Regions from separate parts of the Homo sapiens genome. Here region 1 is linked to region 2. The links are contacts of gene promoters, found by promoter capture Hi-C in blood cells and fetal thymus (Javierre and others, 2016). All regions are on one chromosome and are shown on one strand. The core of a region is centred on a gene start or on the middle of the fragment in contact, and the rest is flanking DNA. Distances in the headings are between cores, read along the strand shown.

Region 1 (5,775 bases), core at 2,333-4,832, 1.3 Mb before region 2:
ATAATCTTATAACGCAATTGGTGTTAAATGCCAATATGCCTATAGTGTAAGGTGACATAAAGACAGGATGGGTTTAGTTATGCGAAGTTATGGGAGGCCTTTCATTGTGAAATTTGAACTGGACTCTGACAATTGGGATAGATTTAATGAGAAACAAAGAGCACAGAACTTCAAGAACTATCTGAGCTGACTGGCTGAGGTGTAGGCTGGAATGTGGTTTGGCTAGGATCATGGGAGGTATGGGGGATAAACATTGACGGGTAGCGTGGATTCAGATTATGGAGACTTTCACATACTTGTTTTGAGAATGCGCTCATATTTCATAAATAAGTAGGAAATTATCGAAGATTAATTTAGAGCATGGGATTTATATAATGGCCATGCAGGTTTAGGAAGAGTACTCTTATAATAATGTACAAGATGATTTGGAAGATGATGATGTGTTATAAGTATTTTGCTGTCATCCTTGTGAGACACGATGAAAGGAAGCACAGCATAGTGGAGACAAAATGCAGTTGGGAATAGGAAAACCTGGGTGTGAATTCCAACTCTGTCTTGCCAAGTGACCTGGGGTATGTCCGGCAATGTAATTTCTCTGAGTTTTAAAACCCTCAGTCAAATGGGAATAGTGATTTCCATTTTGTTGTTTTATTTTTTAAATTAAATGAGATAACAATTGAGAATGACCTAAGTTAGAAGGGCTTGGCTTTAAATCATTTGGTAGAAAGCTAGGCATGGCAGGAAACTAACCCAGGGCTAATGATGGGGCTCCTGATCCTTCTGTCGGGCAGTCCACTGAGAGAGATGACCCCCAATCTACTTAAACAAGGTCTTAGGTACAAAAGGACATGGCACTGACATGTAAGAGGATCAAATTTAGGATGTGAGTCATGACAACAAGGATTTTTAGATAGTGTAGCACACAAAGTCAAGCATTTGGATGTGCGCTGGTATTAAATCCTCAAGCCGTAAGATCAGGACCTAGCCAACAACTTGGAAACAAAATTCAGTATTCCCATGACAAAAGCTATGTAGAATTTCTGGACCGCACATTCAGAGGAGAGACACAATTCCTGTGGTGGGACTTATAGTACTAATTAGAAATTCAGAGAAGAAACTCAGTAGTTTTGGAAGAAACAGTGGATCATCATAGTTCCTTAGGGATTATTCTTGGCACTGGGATTCTGTCTTTCGCAATGGAACTAGGTCAAGGATCATGAGGGAAGCACCTAATAACCTCTTTATTCTGGCAAGCATCATGTCAGGAACAGGGTGGGGCTAAACCTCCAGGTATAAAATCTTTGACTCTTGTTGAGCTGGGCTCCGAGAGACATGGCAAATATTAGCTGTCAAATGTTAATTATTGTTAGTATTAGGATGGGCAGTGAAACTGGAAGTAAAACGTTAAATTTGGGAAGCATTAAAATATTAGTAGAATTTGAGAGCTCACTGGCTATAGGGTTCAAGAGACAGAGAGAGGAGTCAAAAGTAACTTGGGCATTCTGTCCCTGACTAAGATGAATGACTAAGAATAGAGCAAAAACTGTTTTTACAGAGGGGACAAGAGGGTTATTGTACAAAATGGAAGAAGGCATAGGGCAGAGGGGGAAGTTGATTTGAGCTTGAGAACAAAAGCCCAGTGGGGGATATCCTTTAGGGAGTTAGAGGCCAGGTGGAATGGAAAGGCTAGAAAACCCTACTGTCATTATGCTTCCTCATTTTCTTTCTCCCCTCCCATTGTCCACAGACACAAGCACATATATATATTCTCTTTTTCACTTTCCACTTCAGATTATCTTTAAATCCTTGGAATGTTAAATTATTTTTGTGTTCTTGGGAAGGTGATTGCATGACTTATATTTGAAAATGAAATTTTATTTGAACTAGTAAAGGTCAGACTGAGATGTGAGTACCCTGTGGGTTCTAGTTCAATGTTTCATAATGCAGACTATGGAAGATAACATTAAAAATAAAAGAAAACCACAGATTGGTGAATAATATGGAAAGAATAAAAATCAAAATGTTCTGTGCCCTTCCTTGTGTAAAAACAGGACCATGGGATGTTTCACTATTTGGAATTATTCCCACATTTTTTTTAAGAATACCTCAGAAAGTATTAAGCAGAAAGAAATAAATCAGTTGTGAAGCATGTTTTATAAATAACCCTTGTCCAAAAGAATTGAGAACACTACATCCTAGGTGATGGTAGTTAATGCCAGAGTTTCTAAGTTTTTAATGGGAAAGTATACAAGCATAAATAGGAAGGGAACGATCATCCATACATTTAGGACATTTAAATAAACCTGAATTAGATAGTTTCTAAAGGGAAAAGTGAAATTTCAAAAAGTACCTACATTCATAGTGCTGGAGATATAAGCTTCATTTCACTTTTGGAGTGGAATTTTTTTCTCAGCAATGTCTGTTGTTGTTTGTTCTTAGAAAAATATCTAAGAAGAAAAGTGTCTAACACTATATTTTATATTGTCTAACACTATATTTTAATGGAATGAGAAGACATTGCAAACACATTTTCTCTTAAGGCAAATCATTTTCATAGAAGAGGGAACCTAATAAACACTCTGATAATACCTTAGCTTAAGTGATTTTAGCACACTCTGCTATGAATGTTGACCACTTAGTTGTGAAAACTTCTATTTGTAAAATTACGGTTTGATGAAAAACCTGAAGCCTGAGCAACTGTAAAGATACATTCATAGGAGAAACAAAAATGGTAGGACTTACTCAAAACTGGAAACCAATTTTCAGGACTCCTGTTAAAAAGGACTGGCTATAATGTAAGAATAACTGTATATCAGATTATTCTAGGCTTCTCTTTGTCCAAGGATCATTAGCGCTGAATGTAGATGAGGTATTTCATTATAATAACTTTCACATTAATGGTATGAAGGTTGAAATTGTATTGCCCCAACTCCTGTTTTTGTTTTTTTTTTTTTTTACCTAATGCTTAATCTAGTGTTGGGTAAGTAGTCATTGCTTAATTCATATTTCTGAATTATAAGTAAATAAAATCTATGCAAGTTTTTGAAAATATTCTTATATTTTTATAATATAGTTATGGTATATTGGAGCATTAAAAATTAACCTCTGATTCCATGTGCATTAGATAAATAAATAAAATGAATAAAAATCTATGCAAGTTCTTAAAAATGTTTTTATATTTTTCTAATGTAGTTATGGTATATTTGAACATTAGATAATTAACCCCTGATTTCATATAAATTTGATTTCATCCTCATATTTATGTTTCACTGTATTAAGACTCTTTTGATTTCACATGACAAGAACTCAGTTAATAATAGTTTAAGGAAAAGAAAAATAGAATGTTACTGGCCTGTAACTAGGTGGTCCAGAGAGGGAAATTACCTCAGGTACAGCTGGATCCAAGGAATCAATCATGTTGTCAGGGTCTTCTCTCTCAGTAAGTTTTGCCTATGTTTCTATTTGCCTCATTCCTTGTTTAGATGAATGGTGGTGAACTGTAATTGCAAAAGGAGGCTTACATGGTCCTCAGCAAGTATATTGGAAAGTGAGGGGTGTTGTCTTTGCATCAGTGTATAGGGTCCCAGATAAGAACTCTAATTGATTCGGTTGAGTCATGAGCTCATTCCTGTACCAATTCTGTTGGGGGCAAGGGAGAGAGGGAGAAGAAGGCACTGTGATTCACAGCCTCACTAGGACCACATGGAGTGGAAAAGAGTTTCCCAAATAGAAAGGAGCACTATTCATAGAAGTGTAAGGGTGCAAAAGTGTCCAGGGTAGGAACAAAAAAATCAGTAGTGATGACAGCTCACTATATTCAAATACATTTAAAATATTTTGACATATATTCTAAGAAGACACCCCATTCCTCCGAAATCCCACTTGATAATAAACATAGAAAGTTTCCTTTAAATTATTCATTTTATTAACTGATCTTATTTTGGCCTCTACTGTCCAAAGCTGTATTTGTATTTGCATGAAAATATTCCCTAATAATATTATTATTTTCTTTTTTTTAAAAAAAATTTGGTTGGGATTGTAGTTTAAGAAAATTAAATCCACTTTGAATAAATAAGTACAGCTTTGTGATAGTTTGTGAGAAAACTAAACTAAACTGATGACATTTGGTTACACAGATAAAATGAAATTCCAAATTTTAATTTCTTAACATTAACCTGTTGGACTATAAAAGGTGTCCTACAGAGGCTTACCTGCTCTTAAAAGCAGATTTAATTGAGTGGAAGGAAATTGAACAGGTGCAGAAAATGGTTAATATTTGTCACCAAATGTACCATTTGGTGTACATTATGAGGAAAAATGTACAATTTCTCAATTATACTTCATTTTCTCCAAATATAATAATTCTCAGTTGATTCAGAAGCATTTGTTGGGTACTGGGCTGTGTTCAAGACACTTTGCTGTGTTTTGTATTACCAAAATGGGTATGGTCCCCAAACTCTTCAGAGCTTACAATTTTTAGGATGTGTATTTGGAAAATTAATAGAAGAATTAGTAAGATATTTTTTCTATTATTGTTGCATAGGGAAACATTTCATTTGCCATCCTGGATTTCTGAAAAATCAAATGGAATAAATATAGACTAAGACTGCTTGGCAGATATACTTCATGTCTTAGTAAAACAAGAAAGTGGGCAAATAAGGCTAATACAAAATAATGTTTGCATCAGAGTGAAAATTATACCATGAACAAGTTTCTTCAAATTCTGAAATAGTCTATTTATTATTATTTTATCTCATAAGTTCAAGGCAGTTTTTATAGGAAGCTTATTTATTTTCTAAGCTAGCATTAAATGATTATTTTGAGTTTGTGGTGACCAAAGACAACAACGACAACAGCAAAACCAAAAAGTAGTGGCAGATAAACTTGTTTCCAATCACAAACTATGCATTTTTGGAATTTTTTCTATATTGTAATGAAACAGCAAGACTGCTAATATGATTTATTTTAAATATCAGAATTGTGAGATGTGGAAGAAACTAAAGTTTTAAAAAAGATTTATTATATGAGAGTATGTTCATCAACAATGTAATCAGAACTATCCATCTGTTTTGTTTGGAGCTCAGAAGACTAAAAGACAATGAGTATGATTTACCTTCTTCCACAGTTCTCTTAGGGTAAAAGTTTGTTTAGAAATTTGTCATGTGTGCTTTTATTCCTTGCTTACTTGCAAGACAGAAGAGAATCCATATTTAGAAACTAGTCAGAGTGGTGTGTGCTGTATTGAGCAACTGATATTTTGAAGCTCTAAGCATTTTTAAGGAATGAACTCAACCAAAACATGTGATTATAAAATAGCAATTGTTCTTAGTTGAAGTATTACCCCTTAGAGAAAAATATATTTGGCTGGGGTGTTTGGAAGCCATAGAAAAAATAAAAATCACACATCTGAATATTAAAAGGTGAAAAGGAAACAAGACAAGAGGATGAGAAACACCTTTCCAGTTGTTTTTGCTGCTTATGTTATGCAGTTGGATGTCTAATTACTAAAGCTTCATTTTGTTAGACCTTTAAAACTAATACTTTTCATATATTTTCTCCTGATTTAAACTTGAAATCTTTTTGTATTGGGGATGAATCCTTTAGTGTTTAAAGCTGCTCAATGAGTCAGGAAAAAAAAAAAAAACCTTGCTTTTTTAGACTCTACTACCCTTGCCAATATTTTCTGACATGCTGTGGGTCATGGAAATTGGCAGTTTCTATCTGTTAAGGACACACCTGGAGCACTTGTAAATTATTTGTGATGATCGGTTGCCA
Region 2 (5,215 bases), core at 1,990-4,489:
TTCCACTGTCATTGCAGACATGTGCACAATGGTGAAAAATGTGAGTCTACTGACGTGCACATTCTAGTTTCAGCTTACATAGTGTAAACAAGTGTCCTTTTCATGGTCTATTTAGTGCCATGTTTTTCTCATTTTTGTGCTTGCTATTGGTGATTTCACTGTTGAAAACAGTCCCTAAGCGTAGTGCTAAAGTGCTGTCTAGTGTTCAAGGAGCAAAGACTACAGAGAAAATACAAGTGTGAGATAATCTTCATTGAGGCATGATTTACAGAGCTGTTGGCCATGATTTCAATGTTAATAAATCAACCAAATATATTAAATAAGGTGTATTTAAACTGCAACAGACATAAAACAAGGTTGTATCTTGATCAGTTGACAAAAATGTTGTGAACAGCAGCTTTCAGGAATCTAACACCATAGTAGGAGCAGTGGTTCAGTGTTTGCTAATCCAGTTTTCACGGTGACTTTTTGCAACATAACTAATTATATAAAAATAACAACAGAGAGACGGACGGATTTATTAAAAAGACACTGCAGAGGTCATTATGAGTAAACTACCAATGTTTGCAGGAGCATGGCAAAAACACTTCAGGGCACAGTATCTACTGAGTCTTCCTGGCTCTGTTTAAACAACTTTGGGCCAAAACAAAAAATGCAAAATCTACCAAGTCTGTGCTTTGGTCTATCTTAGCTTCTACCGCTTTGCCTACTCAGTGGTATCCCTCTCCCCAAATCAAGTACTCTAAACTTGAATGCATTTTCACAAGTACATGACCCAATCTTATGATCAGGCAGACCCATCAATTATTGATTAATCACGCTTAAATGCGAACTAGACTTGTGCTTAAACATCTTGTCTAAATTGTGGCACTATTTATTAGGAAGGGAGAGGGGATATTAAGCATCTGAAATAAGACCGGCCAGGATCAAAATTAAACTGATTATACATAGACAATTCCAGTTGTGTGGGTGATGGAGACAGAAAAAATACACAAGGAAAGAAAACCTAGGCCTTGGCCTCCCTTCTAGGAAATTAAAGCTGGGGTGTAGGATGGAGAAGTTTCATCTTCTAAAAGGATTTCTTCAGTCCTTGCTTCCTCCTAGCATTTGATTATTGACTTTTCAAGAGAAATGATACATTTATGGCAAAAGTCAGTGGAACACTCTAACAGTGACATTAGCGCTTGAAATAAACTTTTATTCTTCGTTGTGGTTGAACGAACTCTCCTTTTGAAATTCATCTTTATTACTTTCCAAAATTATTTTTTTATTGAAAATGGCTTGCTTAGGGTAGTGATAAGATATGCTTAGGGTAGTGAGTAATACAAGTTACAAATTCAAAATCTAATTTGTGAAATGTCAGTATTTTTTTTCTATTAAATAAAAGACCCATCTGGGATTTAGTGGAATGAGTGAGTGTAACACTACTCAAGCTACATTTCAATTAGTTACTAAAACAATTCAAAGACAGAATATGGCATTTGAGTGAAGAGCCATGTGCTTTTAAAACCTACAACACAATCTAAACCAATAATTGAAATTCATGTGTAATAAAGAGCTAGAAAACTTTATAGTATAGTAAATCTTTTATAAAGACCACTCACCACATATTCATTCTTCTGAAAAACTAAGGATCCTCCTTCTCCCACCTCTCCAAGTTTCGGCTAAGATCATTATTCTGAGCAATGGTTCACGAAACAATGATATGTACACTTGAATAATTCACGATTTCTTTCTCTTTCAAATATTTTATACAAAAATCTTCAGGTTTTTTCCCTTGTGCTAATTTACTGTTGTGTATAGCATTTCAAAAAATACAAGCGGAATCTCAGTCTACTGTTTTCAAACCACATCAACGTCTAACGCTCGGAGAACTGAATCCACTCTTCGATTTTTTTTATCTTAACCATAGAACTTAAAAGGGCCATTTATCAACAAAAAGTATTTCTTTTAAAGTGTTTATTTTGTAGTATCATTTTGCAACTAAAAACTCAAAGGCCAATGAAGCATGCAGCACACAGGGCAAGTATTTTCTACAAGGCAATTATGCCAGAAATACAAAACTAAATTCTAAGTTCTTCTTTTAAAATGGAGTAAACTTTTTTTGTAAGTAGACTTCTACCTGCCGTCATAACCTGTTCCAGATCATGAAGGACCGACCACAAAACCTCGTTAAGTGAAAGTTAACCTGCTTTTATATCACCTTTTAAACTACTATCAAAGAGACATACTGGGAGGGCATGAATAGCACCTTGTCCAACAGAGAAGATTCTAAATAACAAAGATAAATGGGCTCCAAGTTTACCTGCTCCTCAGTGCAACCTACTAACTGAATTTAGAGCAAAGGATCACCTCCAACACGCACACATGCACACAAATACATTGTTTTTCAACAGATGACTGAGCTGCAGCAAAGCCCAGCTTGACACCAGGGGCTGCAGGGTCCTATGCCCTGCAGCGCGGGTGGAGGCTTAGATGAAAAGGCCAACGCATGACACCCGTCTGAGCCACAGCTGGCAGAACGGAGCTTCAACCCTGTTCGATCTGACCCTCTAATGAGTCACTGGCCCAATCGTAACACCAACCCACTTCCTAGCCCGTCTACTACCTATTTTCTCGCGTCAAAAAGCACAGAAAATGATTTAAACTAGGCATGAGAGAACTGTGCACCGGCCGGGGCAGCCAGCGGCAAGAAAAGCCAGCTTAAGAGAGAAAGCCCGAGCCACTCTTTAGGAGCCCCCGCTGGCCCGGCAGCAGAGGAAGAATGGGGTATAAGAGTCAGTCCGGAGGGCGAGGACCCGGAGAAGCCGCCGCCACACCCCAACCCTCCCTCACCTGCCTGTCCGAGCCTCCCCGGGCGCCCGTACCTTCGGCCAGCGACTCTTCCAGGGTGACCTGGTGGCGGCCGACCGCGAACACCCGGACCCCCACGGACGAGCCGCCGGAGCCGCAGCCGGCCCCGGCCCCGGCCCCGCCAGCCCCGCCACCCGCCGCTCCGCCGCCGCTGCCGCCCTCCGACTTGGGCATCCGAGAGAACTTCTTCATGGTCCCGCCGGCGAGCTGGAGGGCGCAGGGAGCGTGCAAGGGCAAGTCCCCGGCCCGGCGCGCAGCCGGGCGTCCGCGAGGGGTCGCCGCCCCTGGCCCGTCCGAGCGTGCTGCGGCCCGCCAAGCCTCACATTCCGCGCTCCCCAAGCGCACAGCCTGGGCCCCGCCGCCCGCTCCGCGGCTCCGCTGCAGCTGCCCGGCTCCCGCAGAGGGCGGTGGGGAGGGCGGGGACGGGGCGGGGCGCGAGGGGGCGGGTCCGAATCCAGGGGCGACGCCGCCGCCTCCGCCAGTGCCCCGGGCGTCCCGCCGCCTCACTAAGCGCCTGGAGCGCGAGCCGGGGTAGAGGAAGAGAGCGAAAGAGGCTGGGCGGCCGGCCCCTCCAGGGAGTGGGCTAGACGTCTCAGGCCACAAACCCGCAGGACCGCAGCCCGTCGCGCCGCCGCCGCCCCGGCCGAACCCGCGCCGCCCGCCACTCGTGGCCGTTGGCGGGGGGGGGGGGGGGGCGCTGCTGCCAACCGCTCACTGAGGCCGGGCGACCCGCGCAGGCGCGCTGCCCGCGCCGCCGGAAGTGACGGTTCCGGCTCTTGTCACGTGGAGGGGGACCAAGGGAGGTGATTGTGGGGGTTGGGGACTAGGGCAAAGTCGGGGGTCCCGGGTCCGGGGTTGCGCCGGGAGGGTACTGGCCAGGCCCGACTTCAAGCAGGGAGGTGGCCCGGGACTGGCTCCCGCGCTGGTCACGCACCGGGGTCCGTCATCTCGACCGGGAGTCGCTGTGCCACTCTAGGGGCTTAAAAATGCCGCCAACAACTTTACCCCTGCTGAGGAACTTCTCGCTTCGTTTCTTAGCCAGTTTTCCAGGCCTTCTCCCTTGAGAGTCTCCTTCCGCTCGCCCACCCTGAGCGTAGGAGGTGGGAGCAGGACGGAACTGGAGTGGATTCCAGTAACTGGACTTCTAAACCGGCTCGGTGTCGTCGCGCTCTGTAGCGGACGCTTGTGCTGGGAAGCGTTTTGCAGTTTATAAATTACTTAGGAGTACTTTAAACATCTCACGCCTGCTGTACCACAGCCATGTGGGGGTATTCAGAACAGGTATTAAGGTCGTTTTGCAGACCATTCATCACTCTTGGCTAAAAGAACTTAACGGAGTCGCCCAAGGTCACACAGCTGGCTCGTGGTAATTGGGGACCATTCTTTGATTCATAATTTTGTGCTTTTGGCCACCCTGAAAAAGTAAGGTCAGATCGTTGAAAAACGGGCAGATTTAAGGCTGTTTGGAAGCAAAAGCGACCACTGCGTTCCCCTCAAATCAAAGAGATTTGCACCCCCTACCAAAAAAAAAAAAAAAAAAAAAAGCCCTGTTGTATCAATTTCATAAACTGCAGGAGTCTCCCGACTGCAGGGTGAAGCAACAAAATAAATATGGGTGTAAAACATTCAGGAGTGGTAGGGAATGGCAAACTGTAGAGCCTGTGTAAAGAGAGCAGCCAATTCTCAGCTCCAGCCTACTTTTCCACAAAAGAAGATAGGCACACACACTGTGCCCAGAGGTTCCAGTTTCTTAAGAGAACCAAAAACCTGGAACTGTTTTCTAATGTGGCATTTCCCTAATTTTTAAAATATAGATCAAATAAATTGTATCTGCAGGACTCCAGTATGCACCTTCTATGAAAGTAGATGAATGTGGTTCTATCCCCACCCCTATTTCTTTATTCTTTTTAATGAGATAACGGGTAGAAACATTAGAAAATGTGCTTAGACAAAAACTTTGAACTTAAAATCCTTGTTCTTTCTTCCCTGCTATTTGAAGAGAAGCTATTTCTGCCAACACTAAAATAGTGCTCTGGATTTAGGCATTTCTGCTACATAACCCACTAAACTAAAATTCTTCATCCAGAGACCTGACGTTTAAAGTAGATTCCAGCTTAGTGGAAGTGAGATTATATGTCAGATGATTGATGTGGTGTGGCAGTTGGGGATTTCCATTTAGAAACAAGCTGACCACTTTCGTTGCTGTGGGGCTTCATTGTGGAGTCTCATTCCTAAATTTGAATTGTTTTTTAAGCAGAATAATGGAAAGATTAAGTCATTTCATGCAATTCAAAACTGGAGTCAGACAAACATACAAAGTTTGGGCCTGATATAACTTCACCTGATCACAACAAGCCTGCTA

Evidence for each region. The method cuts DNA at HindIII sites, captures the fragments that hold promoters and counts their contacts. A CHiCAGO score of 5 or more calls a contact.
Region 1: a contact is called between a fragment that was not itself captured here and the fragment with the promoter of BMP2K in region 2, in 1 of 17 cell types (M2 macrophages). The highest score is 5.1, in M2 macrophages.

The regions. Positions count from the first base shown.
Region 1 is chr4:80,045,449-80,051,223 of GRCh38, reverse strand. The region is part of intron 7 of ANTXR2 (ANTXR cell adhesion molecule 2); the gene reads left to right. Among named protein-coding and RNA genes, the nearest start is that of ANTXR2, 25 kb to the left of the region's middle. The HindIII fragment of the contact is 2,406 bases long and covers 2,380-4,785 here.
Region 2 is chr4:78,774,374-78,779,588 of GRCh38, reverse strand. BMP2K (BMP2 inducible kinase) reads right to left here and starts at 3,239. Exons shown (of 16, transcript NM_198892.2): 1 at 2,868-3,239. The coding sequence starts at 3,045. BMP2K-DT (BMP2K divergent transcript) reads left to right here and starts at 3,619. Exons shown (of 1, transcript NR_186689.1): 1 at 3,619-5,215. RefSeq lists silencers at 2,335-2,535, 2,897-3,566, 3,657-3,906 and enhancers at 2,110-2,740, 3,373-4,003. The HindIII fragment of the contact is 15,970 bases long and covers 1-5,215 here.